Linked DNA regions of Homo sapiens: region 2 is linked to region 1. Evidence: promoter capture Hi-C in human tissues and cell types (Jung and others, 2019). All regions are on one chromosome and are shown on one strand. Each heading gives the region's core, a stretch centred on a gene start or on the middle of the fragment in contact. The rest is flanking DNA. Distances are from core to core; before and after follow the strand shown. Region 1 holds the start of POC1A (POC1 centriolar protein A). Region 2 overlaps DOCK3 (dedicator of cytokinesis 3).

Evidence for each region. The method cuts DNA at HindIII sites, captures the fragments that hold promoters and counts their contacts. A contact is called where the count stands out against the background at its distance.
Region 2: a contact is called between a fragment that was not itself captured here and the fragment with the promoter of POC1A in region 1, in 1 of the 25 tissues and cell types used here (dorsolateral prefrontal cortex).

The regions. Positions count from the first base shown.
Region 1 is chr3:52,151,044-52,156,929 of GRCh38, reverse strand. It overlaps POC1A (POC1 centriolar protein A), which reads left to right and starts at 2,507. Exons shown (of 11, transcript NM_015426.5): 1 at 2,507-2,575; 2 at 5,830-5,886. The coding sequence starts at 2,558. RefSeq lists enhancers at 1,160-2,136, 2,137-3,114. The HindIII fragment of the contact is 12,174 bases long and covers 1-4,821 here.
Region 2 is chr3:50,756,021-50,761,906 of GRCh38, reverse strand. All of the region lies in intron 1 of DOCK3 (dedicator of cytokinesis 3), which reads right to left. Among named protein-coding and RNA genes, the nearest start is that of MIR4787, 84 kb to the right of the region's middle. The HindIII fragment of the contact is 3,740 bases long and covers 1,107-4,846 here.

The sequences.
Region 1 (5,886 bases), core at 1,258-3,757:
TTTATTTTTTTTTGAGACGGAGTCTCGCCCTGTCGCCCAGGCTGGAGTGCAGGGGCTTGATCTAGGCTCACTGCAAGCTCCGCCTCCCGGGTTCATGCCATTCTCCTGCCTCAGCCTCCCGAGTAGCTGGGACTACAGGCGCCAGCCACCACGCCCTGTAATTTTTTGTATTTTTAGTAGAGACGGGGTTTCACCGTGTTAGCCAGGATGGTCTGCGATGTCCTGACCTCGTGATCCACCCGCCTTGGCTTCCCAAAGTGCTGGGATTACAGGCGTGAGCCACCATGCCGGGCTTGATCGTACAATTTATATGATTACTGAGCACTCTAATGGTAAGGAAAATTAAGACCAGCTGGTTGTTAACCTTAACTTCAGCCAAGAAAATCCCCAATTCGGCTACTTACCTAAGAACAGGTCTTAGGCTAAAGACTGCTCTCTACCATCCCAGAAGTAGGGAAAACTCAAACTTTCCTTCTCTGTTGGAAGCGAGCTCAAACTCCAGAAAGGAGTTACCTGCCTTCCATCGTCAGGGAAGCAGGAAAACCTGCCTTCCTTGTTGGAAACAAGTAAAACTCCAGAAAAAGGAGTTGTACAGTAAAATAAACTTTAGATGTTAACCAAATTTGGGAAGATCAGGAATTTTGTGGAGGGGGGCTCCCAGGCCTTAGCAAATTGTCCTGTAGATTTGAGCCATAAAGATAGCTCAAGCTGGTACCAAGCACCGATAGGAGATCTGTCAAAGGTCAGGGGCACCTCCACTCAGAATCCTTTCGTGGTTGCCAAACTGTCAACCCGAAATACCTGAGACAGGTCTCAGTCAACTTAGAAAATTTATTTTGCTAAGGTTAAGGACACACCCATGACACAGCCTCAGGAGGTCCTGACAACATGTGCCCAAGTGGCCTGGGCACAGCATGGTTTTATACATTTTAGGGAGACAAAATACATCAATCAATACATGTAAGATTTACATTGGTTTGATCTGGAAGGACAAGACAACTCGAAGTGGGAAACTTCCAGGTCATTGGTAGATTTAAACATATTCTGATTGGCAATTGGTTGAAATAATTATTATCAGTAGAAAGGGATATCTCGGTTAAGATAAGGGGTTATGGAGACCAAGGTTTTACCATGCAGATGAAGCCTCCAGGTAGCAGGTTTCAGAGAAAATAGATCGTAAATGTTTCTTATCAGACTTAAGGTTTTTGTTGATGTTAATGCTGGAGGGTATAATGAGGCATGTCCAACCCCCACTTCCCATCATGGCCTGAACCACTCTTTCAGGTTAAATTTGAGTGCCCTGGCCAAGCAGGGAGTCTATTCAGATGGTTGCTGGTGGCCTTCAAATTTTATTTTATATATATATATATTTTTTGAGACGGAGTCTCCCTCTGTTGCCCAGGCTGGAGTGCAGCGGCAACATCTAGGCTCACTGCAATCTCTGCCTCCGGAGTTCGAACAATTCTCCTCCCTCAGCCTCCCGAGTAGCTGGGTTTACAGGCGCGTGCCACCACGCCCGGCTAATTTTTGTATTTTTAGTAGACATGGGGTTTCACCATGTTGGCCAGGCTGGTCTCATACTCCTGACCTCAGGTGATCCACCCACCTCGGCCTCCCAAAGTGGCAAAGTGCTGAGATTACAGGCGTGAGCCACTGAGCCCGGCCTCTCCTTCTTTTAAAGACTGGGTTTCTAACAGCTTCTGAGGCCTTAAGGATCCTGACAGGGCCGGGCTGCACCACACTCCCTCGTGTTACAAATGGGGAAACCGGGGCACAGAGCAGAGGCGTTTTTCCTGAGATCACACAGCCAATCAGGGCGAGAACTGAGAATCGAACCTTGATCTCTCCACTCCATGATTGTGATTCCGAGTAACTCATGTTATTTTAAATCGACACTTGTCTTAAGAACGTTCGGACGGCGAACCACTGAGAGTTCCCGAGGGGCGAATACTCAGCTCTCAATAGGTTCCTGCGGGGAAAATCTGGCTGCGCCGGCGCGCGCGGGTGCTTTAACGCAATCTGGTTACAGCAACCCACGTGTCCTCCGCTTCCGGGATCCTTAAGGCCGTCGCTTCGGGTGGTAAAACCCGGCCCGCCCTCTTGTTGCCCAGGCTGGAATGCAATGGTGCAATCTCATGTTGGGAAGTGTAGCTCCACCTTCCTCCAGACATAGGGGCGTGGGCGGCTTGGAACTGCATTTCCCAGGAGGCTGCGCTCGCCGTTAGAGTAGCCGGACGACGGGCTGGTGGGGTGAACCCTTCATCCTGGGTCTTTTAATTTCTCAGGCGGAACGAGTGGCGGCGGACAGAGGCTTTTGGCTGCGCTGTCTGTGGGTTGTCTGGGCTTGGGGAACTGGGCACGGAGACCGTGGCGCCGGCCGCCGGTCATACAGCTCTGCTTCCAGTCGTCGGGCAAAAAGCTGAGGCGCTTCTCCTTTAATTGCGGTGGGCGGGGCGTGCCGACGCGGCCCGCGTTGCTATTGGTGGCCGTTGGGGGCGCGGAAACTGAACGGGCCGCAACGGCCACCGCAGCTGCCTTCGGCGCCGCCAGCCCCGCCATGGCTGCGCCCTGCGCGGTAAGCCCAGCCGAGAGCAACTCCCCAGGCCTCAGTCTCCCCGCTGGGACACTGGGCGCCTAATGGCCAGAGCGATGGCTGCGAGGGGCGGGCGGGGCGCCAGGTTCCAGGGTGGTCCTCTTCAGGTCCAGTTTACTGTCTGCGCAGGGGGCGCTGGGTCGGGCACTTTCTGAGCGCCTCCTGCGTGCCAGGCCCTGCGCTGGGTTTCTGGAGCGAACAAACAGGCCTCTGCCTCCATAGTTTGCATCCTAGCGAGGGACACACGACCAAGTCCCGACTCATGTGTGACCTGGGGCCGGTATCGGGCCTCTCTAGCCATTCTCCACGTCCTTAGCAGTGGGTGGCTGCGTGGGGTCTTGTTGAGGGTACACCCTGCTCCAGCAGGTAGGTACAGCAGGACGCTGGGATGCCCGGGCCTGCAGTGTGAGCGGGGCGGAGCCGCCCTCTCTGAGTTCACATTCCTCCAGAAGTCCTCATTTCGAGAGATTCCTTTGAACGGGCAAGGCCCTCTGGCTGATTGGAGAGTCAGGGAGGCTGGGTGGTAGCCTGTGATGCCCTGAGGCACTTGAGGACATGGACGGAGATTCCAGGCTAGGATACAGACCTTTTGACTCCTAATCTGGTACTCTACCTCCCTTCCTGTCCCCTCATGTATAAACCACTGTTGAGGGAGATGAGGCCCACATGCAGGGAACTACAGAGGGGAGGCGGTGTTGAGAGATACCATGGGACCTACTGGTCAGGGGTGGACCTGAACTTGCCTCTGCCCACTGAGCCTAGGGGCGGACACTCTCTTACGCATGTTCTTTCAAGAAGCTTAGGTGAGAGCAGAAGGCTCTGTTGGGGACCCTCCCCCAGCTGCTCCTCCCTCTGTTGTTGAAAGGAGACTCTGACAGGTGCGTTAGGGGTGGAGCTGGGCACAAGGCCATAGGGCCTTTGTTCTGGTTACTGCTCTGTAGGGTGGCAGTGGCTTTGCTGTGCCCCAAGGACATCCTTTCCCAGGAGGAGCCTTTGGGCTTCCTGGAGCACCCAAAATGCTTCTTTGAGGTTTCTGATACTTAGAGTAGGGGGAGATGTTTGGATGGCTGAATTATAACCCTTCAAGTGTTAAGACACAAGCTGCTATTGGATGGAGAGAGTCTCCGGAGTATTCTCTCTGGTGTTTTAACTTTATTAAGTTATTCATACACCACAGAATTCACCTTTTAAAGTGTACATTTCAGTAGTTTTTAGTACATTCACAGTGTTGTGCAACTGTAATCACTAATTCCAGAATATTTTCATCATCCCAAAAAGAAACTCCATACTCAATAACAGTCATACCATTTCTTCTCTTTCCCCATTTTCTCCCAACCCTTGGCAAACTAATATATTAATACTTTCTGTCTCTATAGATTTGACTATTCTGAACTTTTCATATGAATGGAATCAGACAAAATGTGGCCTTTGGTGTTTGACTTCTTTCACTTAGCATGTTTTCAAGGTTCATCCATGTTGCAGCAAGCATCAGCACTTCAGTCGGTTTTATGGCTGAATAATATTCTGTTGTATGAATATGCTACATTTGGTTTATTCAGTCATGTGTTGATGGATCATTTGGGTTCAATCACTTGTTGGCTATTAAGGAAAATGCTGCTCTGAACATTTGTGTACAAGTTTTTGTGTAAACCATGTTTTCAACTCTTTGGGGTATTTACCTAGAATTGCTGGGTCATTTGCTAACCACGTTTAACTACTTTATTTTTTATTTTATTTATTTATATTTATTTTATTTATTTATTTTTTGATTAGGAGTCTCACTCTGTCGTCCAGGCTGGAGTGCACTGGTGCAATCTCGGCTCACTACAACCTCCTCCTCCTGGGTTCAAGCGATTCTCCTGCCTTAGCCTCCCAAATAGCTGGGACTATAGGCGCCCACCACCACGCCTAGCTAATTTTTGTATTTTTAGTAGAGAGGGGTTTTCACCATGTTGGCCAGGCTGATCTTGAACTCTTGACCTCAGGTAATCTGCCCGCCTTGGCCTCCTAAAGTGCTGGGATTACAGGCGTGAGCCACTGTGCCCGGCTAACTACTTTTTTTTAGTCAGGGTCTTGCTCTGTTGCCCAGGCTGGAGTGCAGTGATGTGATCACAGCTCACTGCAACCTTGAACTCCTGTGCTCAAGCAGTCCTCCCACCTCACCCTCCTGAGTAGCTGAGAATACAGGCATGAGCCACTACGTGTGGCTAATTCTTTAATTTTTTTGTAGGGTCAGGGTCTTGCTGTGTTGCCCAGGTTGGTCTTGAACCCCTGGCTTAAAGTGATCCTCCTGCCTCAGCCTCCCAAAATGTGGGGATTACAGGTGTGAGCCACTTCACCTGACCTATGTTTAACTTTTTGAGGAACTGCCAAATTACTTTCTATAGTATCTGTGTTTTTTGTTTGTTCGTTTGTTTGTTTGTTTTTAAAGATTTTTTTTTTTTTCTGGGTGTCTTGCATTTTCATGTGAATCTTGGGAGCAGCTTGTCAGTTTCTGCAAAAAAGACACCTGGGATTTTGATAGGAATTATGTGGAATCGGTAGATCAATCTGAGGAGTATCGTAGTATTGTATCTTAACAATAGTAAGTCTTCCTGTTCATGAATGTGGAATGTCTTTCCATTTTTTAAGTCTTCTTTCATTTCTCTTAGTGATGTTTTGTCGTCTTTACTGTACAAGTCCTGCACTTCTTTTGTTAAATTATTCCTTTTTTTTTTTTTTTTTTTGAGACGGAGTCTCGCTCTGTCACCCAGGCTGGAGTGCAGTGGCACAATCTCTGCTCACTGCAAGCTCCGCCTCCTGGGTTCACACCATTCTCCTGCGTCAGCCTCCTGAGTAACTGGGATTATAGGCGCCTGCCACCATGCCCGGCTAATTTAAAATATTGCTATTTTTTTTATGTATCATAAATAGTTTTATTTTTTGGATTATTCATTGCTAGTGTACAGAAAGACAATTGATTTTTGTGTCTTGATTTTGTATCTTGCAACTTTGCTGAACTCATTTGTTTTTTGTTTTTGTTGAAGCATTTCCACAGTTGATGTATTAATTCAAATAGTAAAAACTATTCCTAGTAAAAACTAATCCTAAGTGGATTCCTTAGGATTTTCTTTATATAAGATCATGCCTTGAGCATTTTTAACCCTACTCCCCCGGCTGTTGTAGGAAGAGTGCTGGCCCTGGGGAAGCCCCTTCCTCACCCAGGCTTCACACATTTGACCCTGGCTCTCTCTCAGGAGGACCCCTCGCTGGAAAGGCATTTTAAGGGCCACCGAGATGCAGTTACCTGTGTG
Region 2 (5,886 bases), core at 1,727-4,226, 1.4 Mb after region 1:
TTGTATATGTGCCACATTTTCTTAATCCAGTCTATCATTGTGGACATTTGGTTGGTTCCAAGTCTTTGCTATTGTGAATAGTGCCACAATAAACATACATGTGCATGTGTCTTTATAGCAGCATGATTTATAATCCTGTGGGTATATACCCAGTAATGGGATGGGAACGGACATTTTATCAAAGCCATTAGCCTAACGACACCAAAAAGCTCAGAAAAATGGTGAAAAATTATCAGGTGAAGATCCAAAAGAAGATTAAAGTGCAGAAAAGTGAATCCAACTGAGAGGGTAATTTTTCCCTTGGGGAAATTAGCTGCTGAGGACCTGGCCAGCACTTTTGACGGCTTCCCAGGGATAAAGACACCAAAGGTGGAATCTAGGCCCACATTTTAAGCTTGGGGCCCTAAAGACTACATTCTGAATCAACCTCAAGTAGCACTGCCCTCACACAGACTGCAGCCCACTTTCAAAGCAGCTGAATCTCCGAAATTGTGTTAAGGTGTTCTAAGGCTACTAGCAATTTAGAAATTTTGTTTTTCAGCCTATTTCATGTTCCTTTCAGCTAAGTTTTCCTTCTACTGGACACAGGTGGAATCTCAATGAGAAAAGATATTCATGAGACTATTAAGGAAATATAAAATGACGTACCATGTGTGTTGCAAAAGGGAATTTTATTTATTATGCTAAGGAATTTAGAGGAAAACATTGCAGCTTTGTTTATTTTAAAAAATAATAAAAGTAAAAGCTAAATTTTTAAAAAATGATATAAAAATAAAAAAATAAAGAAGACAGGATCTTATGTGTATTTTTTTTTTAATAAAGAATCCATCCAGGTGCGGTGGCTCACGCCTGTAATCCCAGCACTTTGGGAAGCCAAGGCAGGCAGATCACGAGGTCAGGAATCGAGACCATCCTGGCTAACACGGTAAAACCCCGTTTCTACTAAAAATACAAAAAATTAGCCAGGCGTGGTGGCAGGCGCCTGTAGTCCCAGCTACTCAGGAGGCTGAGGCAGGAGAATGGCGTGAACCCAGGAGGCGGAGCTTGCAGTGAGCCGAGATCACGCCATTGCACTCCGCCTGAGAGACAGAGCAAGACTCCATCTCAAAAGAAAAAAAAAAAAAGAATCCACATTAAACTATTAGAGGTAGCAAACTAGTTCAGCAAGATTGCAGGATACACAATCTGTACAGATGCTCCTCGACTAACAACGTGGTTACATTCTGATAAATCCATCGTAAGTTAAAAATATCTTTAATTGAAAATTCATTTAAAATATCTAACCCATCAAACATCATAATTTAACCTAGCCTATTTTAAACATGCTCAAAACACTTCAATTAGCCTACAGCTGCACAAAATCATCTAACACAAAGCCTATTTTATAAGATGTTCAATGCCTCATATAATTTAGTGAATATTATACTGAAAGTGAAAAACAGAACGGTAGTATTAATACTCAAGGTATGATTTCTACTCAATTCACATCACTTTTGCACCATAGTAAAGTCCAAAAACCATAAGACAAACCATCCTAAGTCAAGAACCATCTGCATATAAAAATCAGTTGTGATCTTAGAAACAAACCCTCACATAAATGATCACTTGATTTTTGACAAGAGTGCCAGGATCATTCAACAAAGAACTGACTGTCTTTTCAACCAGAGGTGGTGGAAAACTGGATACCACATGCAAAAGAATAAAGTTGGATGGACCCTTATCTCACAGCATATACAAAAATGAACTAAAAATGGCTCAAAGACTTAAAAGTAAAAGCTATAACTGTAAAACTCTTAGAAGAAAACATAAGGGAAAAGCTTCATGACACTGGGTTTGGAAATGATTTCTTCATGACCAAAAGTACAGGAAAAAAAAAAAAGAGTCCGCCTTCATCAAAATTTAAAACTTGTATGCATCAAAGGCTACATCAACAACAATCCACAGAATGGGAAAAAATATTTTTAAATCATATATCTGATAAGGAATTAACTGACAGGATAAAGAACTCCTACAGATCAGCAACAAACAAACAGATTTTTTTTTTTTTTTTTAATAATATCTCACTCGGTCACCCAGGCTGGAGTGCAGTGGCATGATTACAGCTTATTGTAGCCTTGAACTCCTGGGCTCAGGCAATACTCCCACCTCAGCCTCCCAAGCCTTCCTGTAGTTGGAACTACAGGCACGTGCCACCATGCCCAGCTAATTTTTTCCATTTTTTTTTTTTTTTTTTTTAGAGACGGGGTCTTACTTGTCACCCAGGCTGGTATTGAACTCCTGGGCTCAAGCAGTCCTCCTGCCTTGGCTTCCCAAAGTGCTGGGATTACAGGTGTGGGCCAAAACACCCAACCCAAATTGATTCTTAAAATAGGCAAAAGACTTGAGTAGGCATTTTTGCAAAGAAGATACACAGATGCTCAACAGGCACATAAAAAGATGTTCAACATCCCTAATCATTAGGGAAATGCAAATCAAAGCACAATGAGATGCCACTTCATACCCATTTGGATGGCTATTACGAAAAAATAAAAAAGAACAAATATTAAAGGTGTGGAGAAATTAGAACCTTTTTGCATTGCTGGTGGGGATGTAAAATGGTGCAGCCGCTGTGGAAAACAGTATAGCAATTCCTAAAAAAATTAAACAGAATAATCAAATATAATTATTTTAATTTAAAAAGAATTTAAATTAAATACTTAATTTAGTTAATTAAATATCTAATTTCATTTAACAAATTTAATTTTAATTTGATATTAAACAGAATTATATGATCCAGCCATTCCACTTCTGCGTATATATCCAAAGGCAGGGGACAAGGACAGATATTTGTATACCCGTGTTCTAGCACGATTATATACAATAGTGAAAAGGTGAAAGTAATCCAAGTGTCCACTGATAGATGAACAGATAAAATATGGTACGTGCCTACAATGGAATATTATTCAGCCTTACAAAGTAACAAAATCTTGACATGCTACAACATGGATAAACCTTGAAAGTACTACACTAAGTAAAATAAGCTAGTCACAAAAGGAAAATTTTATATGATTCCACTATAGATGATCCTCAACTTATGATGGTTCAATTCATGATTTTTCAATCTTACAATAAGCTTTTGGATGTACCCTCATCAAAAGAGAAGGAGTATCTGTAATACATTGTTCCCGGAGTGCTCAAATTCATAAAGAAAAAAGTAGAATTTTGGTTGCCGGGGGCTGGGAAAGTGTGGAATGAAGAGTCAGTCTTTAATGGGTACAGAGTTCAAGCTGAGGAAGATGAAAAAGTTCTAGATATAGATGGTGGAGATGGTTATTTAACAACAGTATGTATGTACTTGATGCTGCAGAACTGTACACTTTCAGACGAGATCGGCGCGTTCAGGGTGGTATGGCCATAGACAGAACTGTACACTTACAAATGGTTAAAACTATAAATTTAATTATATATCTTTTTTTTACTGTCGTAATATATAAGCACAATAAAAAAACAGAGATACAGAGATCCAGAATATCCAAAACAATCTTGAAAATGAGGACAAAATATAAAGGATCCACACTTCTCAATTTCAAAACTTACTATAAAATTACAATTGTGAAGATAGTGTGGTAGTGGCATAAGGATAGAATTATGTCAAAGGAAAAGAACTAAGACTCTGGGGCGGGGGGGATAACCTTCAAATTTATGTCCAATTAATTTTCTTTTTTTTTTTCTTTTTTTTTTTTTTTTTTTGAGACAGAGTCTCGCTCTGTCGCCCAGACTGGAGTGCAGTGGCGCGATCTCGGCTCACTGCAAGCTCCACCTCCCGGGTTCATGCCATTCTCCTGCCTCAGCCTCCCGAGTAGCTGGGACTACACACACACACTGCCACTCCCGGCTAATTTTTTTTGTATTTTTTAGTAGAGACGGGGTTTCACCGTGTTAGCCAGGATGGTCTCAATTTCCTGACCTCGTGATCTGCCCGCCTCAGCCTCCCAAAGTGCTGGGATTACAGGCGTGAGCCACCGTGCCCAGCCATCCAATTAATTTTCAATAAAGGTGCCAAGACAATTCAACAGGAGAAAGAATCATCTTTTCAATAGATATCCACAGGCAAAGTATGAACTTGGATTCTTACTTCACATCATAAACAAAAATTATCTCAAAAAAGTTTAAACCTAAATGTAAGAGCTAAACTACAGAATTCTTAAACAGGAGTAAATCTTTATGGCCTTGAATTTGTCAACTGTTTCTTAGATGTGAAACCAAGAACATAAGCAATAAAAAAGAAAATTAAATTTCATCAAAATTTAAAACTTTTGCACTACAAAGACCACCAAGAAAGTAAAAAGACAACCTACAAAATGGAGAAAATATCTATATATCACATATCTTACAAGGGACTTGTATCTAGACTATATAAAGAACTTTTACAACACAACAATAAAAAGACAATCTGAGCCAGGCGCAGTGGCTCACGCCTGTAATCGCAGCACTTTGGGAGGCCCAGGCAGGTGGATCACTTGAGACCAGGAGTTCAAGACCAGCCGGGCCAACATGGTGAAATCCTGCCTCTACTAAAAATACAAAAATTAGCCAGGCATGGTGATGCGCGCCTGTAATCCCAGCTACTTAGGAGGCTGAGGCAGGAGAAATCGCTTGAACCCAGGAGGCGGAAGCTGCAGTGAGCCGAGATCACACCATTGCACTCCAGCCTGGGTGAGACAGCAAAACTCAGTCTCAGAAAAAAAAAAAAAAAAAAAAAAAGACGACAATCTGACTGGGCACAGTGGCTCACGCCTGTAATTCCAACACTTTGTGAAGCCAAGGCAGATGGATTGCTTGAGCCCAGGAGTTCAAGATCAGCCTGAGCAATATGGCAAAACCCTGTCTCTATGAAAAATTAGCCAGGTGTGGTGAGGTGTACCTGCAGTCCCAGTTACTTGGAAGGCTGAGACGGGAGGACTGCTTGAGCCTGGGAGAGTGAGGCTGCAGTGAGCCATGATCCAGCCTGGGTGACAGACTGAGATCCTGTCTCAAAAAAGAAAAAAGATAACACAATTTTTAAATAGGGAAAGGATGTGAATAGATATTTCTCCCAAAGAAGATATACAAATGGCCAACAGGCACATGAAAAAATGCTCCACATCATTAGTAATTGGTGAAATGCTAATCAAAACCACAAGATACCAGTCTGCATGTGCTAGAATCAAAAAGACTGACAACAAAAGTGTAAGAGAGGATGCATTATTGGTGAAAATGCAAAATGGTGCAGCTCCTGTGAAAAATAGCTTGGTTACTCAAAAAGTTAAGCATATAATTACTATATGATCTAGCATTTCCACTCCTAGGTATATGCTGAAGAGAACTAAAAACATATGCTCTCATAAAAACCTGTACACACATGTTCAAAACAGTGTGTGTTTTGAACTAATCAAAACAAAAAAAATGTATGTTTTGATAAACAAAATGTGATATATCTGTTAGAGTAGGTAGACAGACAAGCAGGGCAGGAGAACCCCCCTACATGCCCCCGCTCCCCGCTCCCAGAATGTCAGGCAACCATAGAAAACACCTGGAGATGGTAATCAGCAGCTTCCCAATAAGATCGCAGGAATTGGGCGAGCAGACTCAAGCATGCACATTATGAGGCAAAATGGCAGAGTTTAACCAGTATATGACCATCCTCTGGAAACACTCTATTGGTAAGGGAAAAACGTCCCCAAATTAGCATGTGTACAACTTCCATAAACACACTGTGCATGTGGCCCTCCCAAGTGCTGGCAGGCCACTGCACATGCAGACAGCCCACCCCAAGGTAAAAAATCAAGGGAGGGGAAACAGAAACCCCAGAACCATGCCAGCAAATAAAACCTCAAGTCCAGGGCTGAATGGGGCATTTGGATCTCA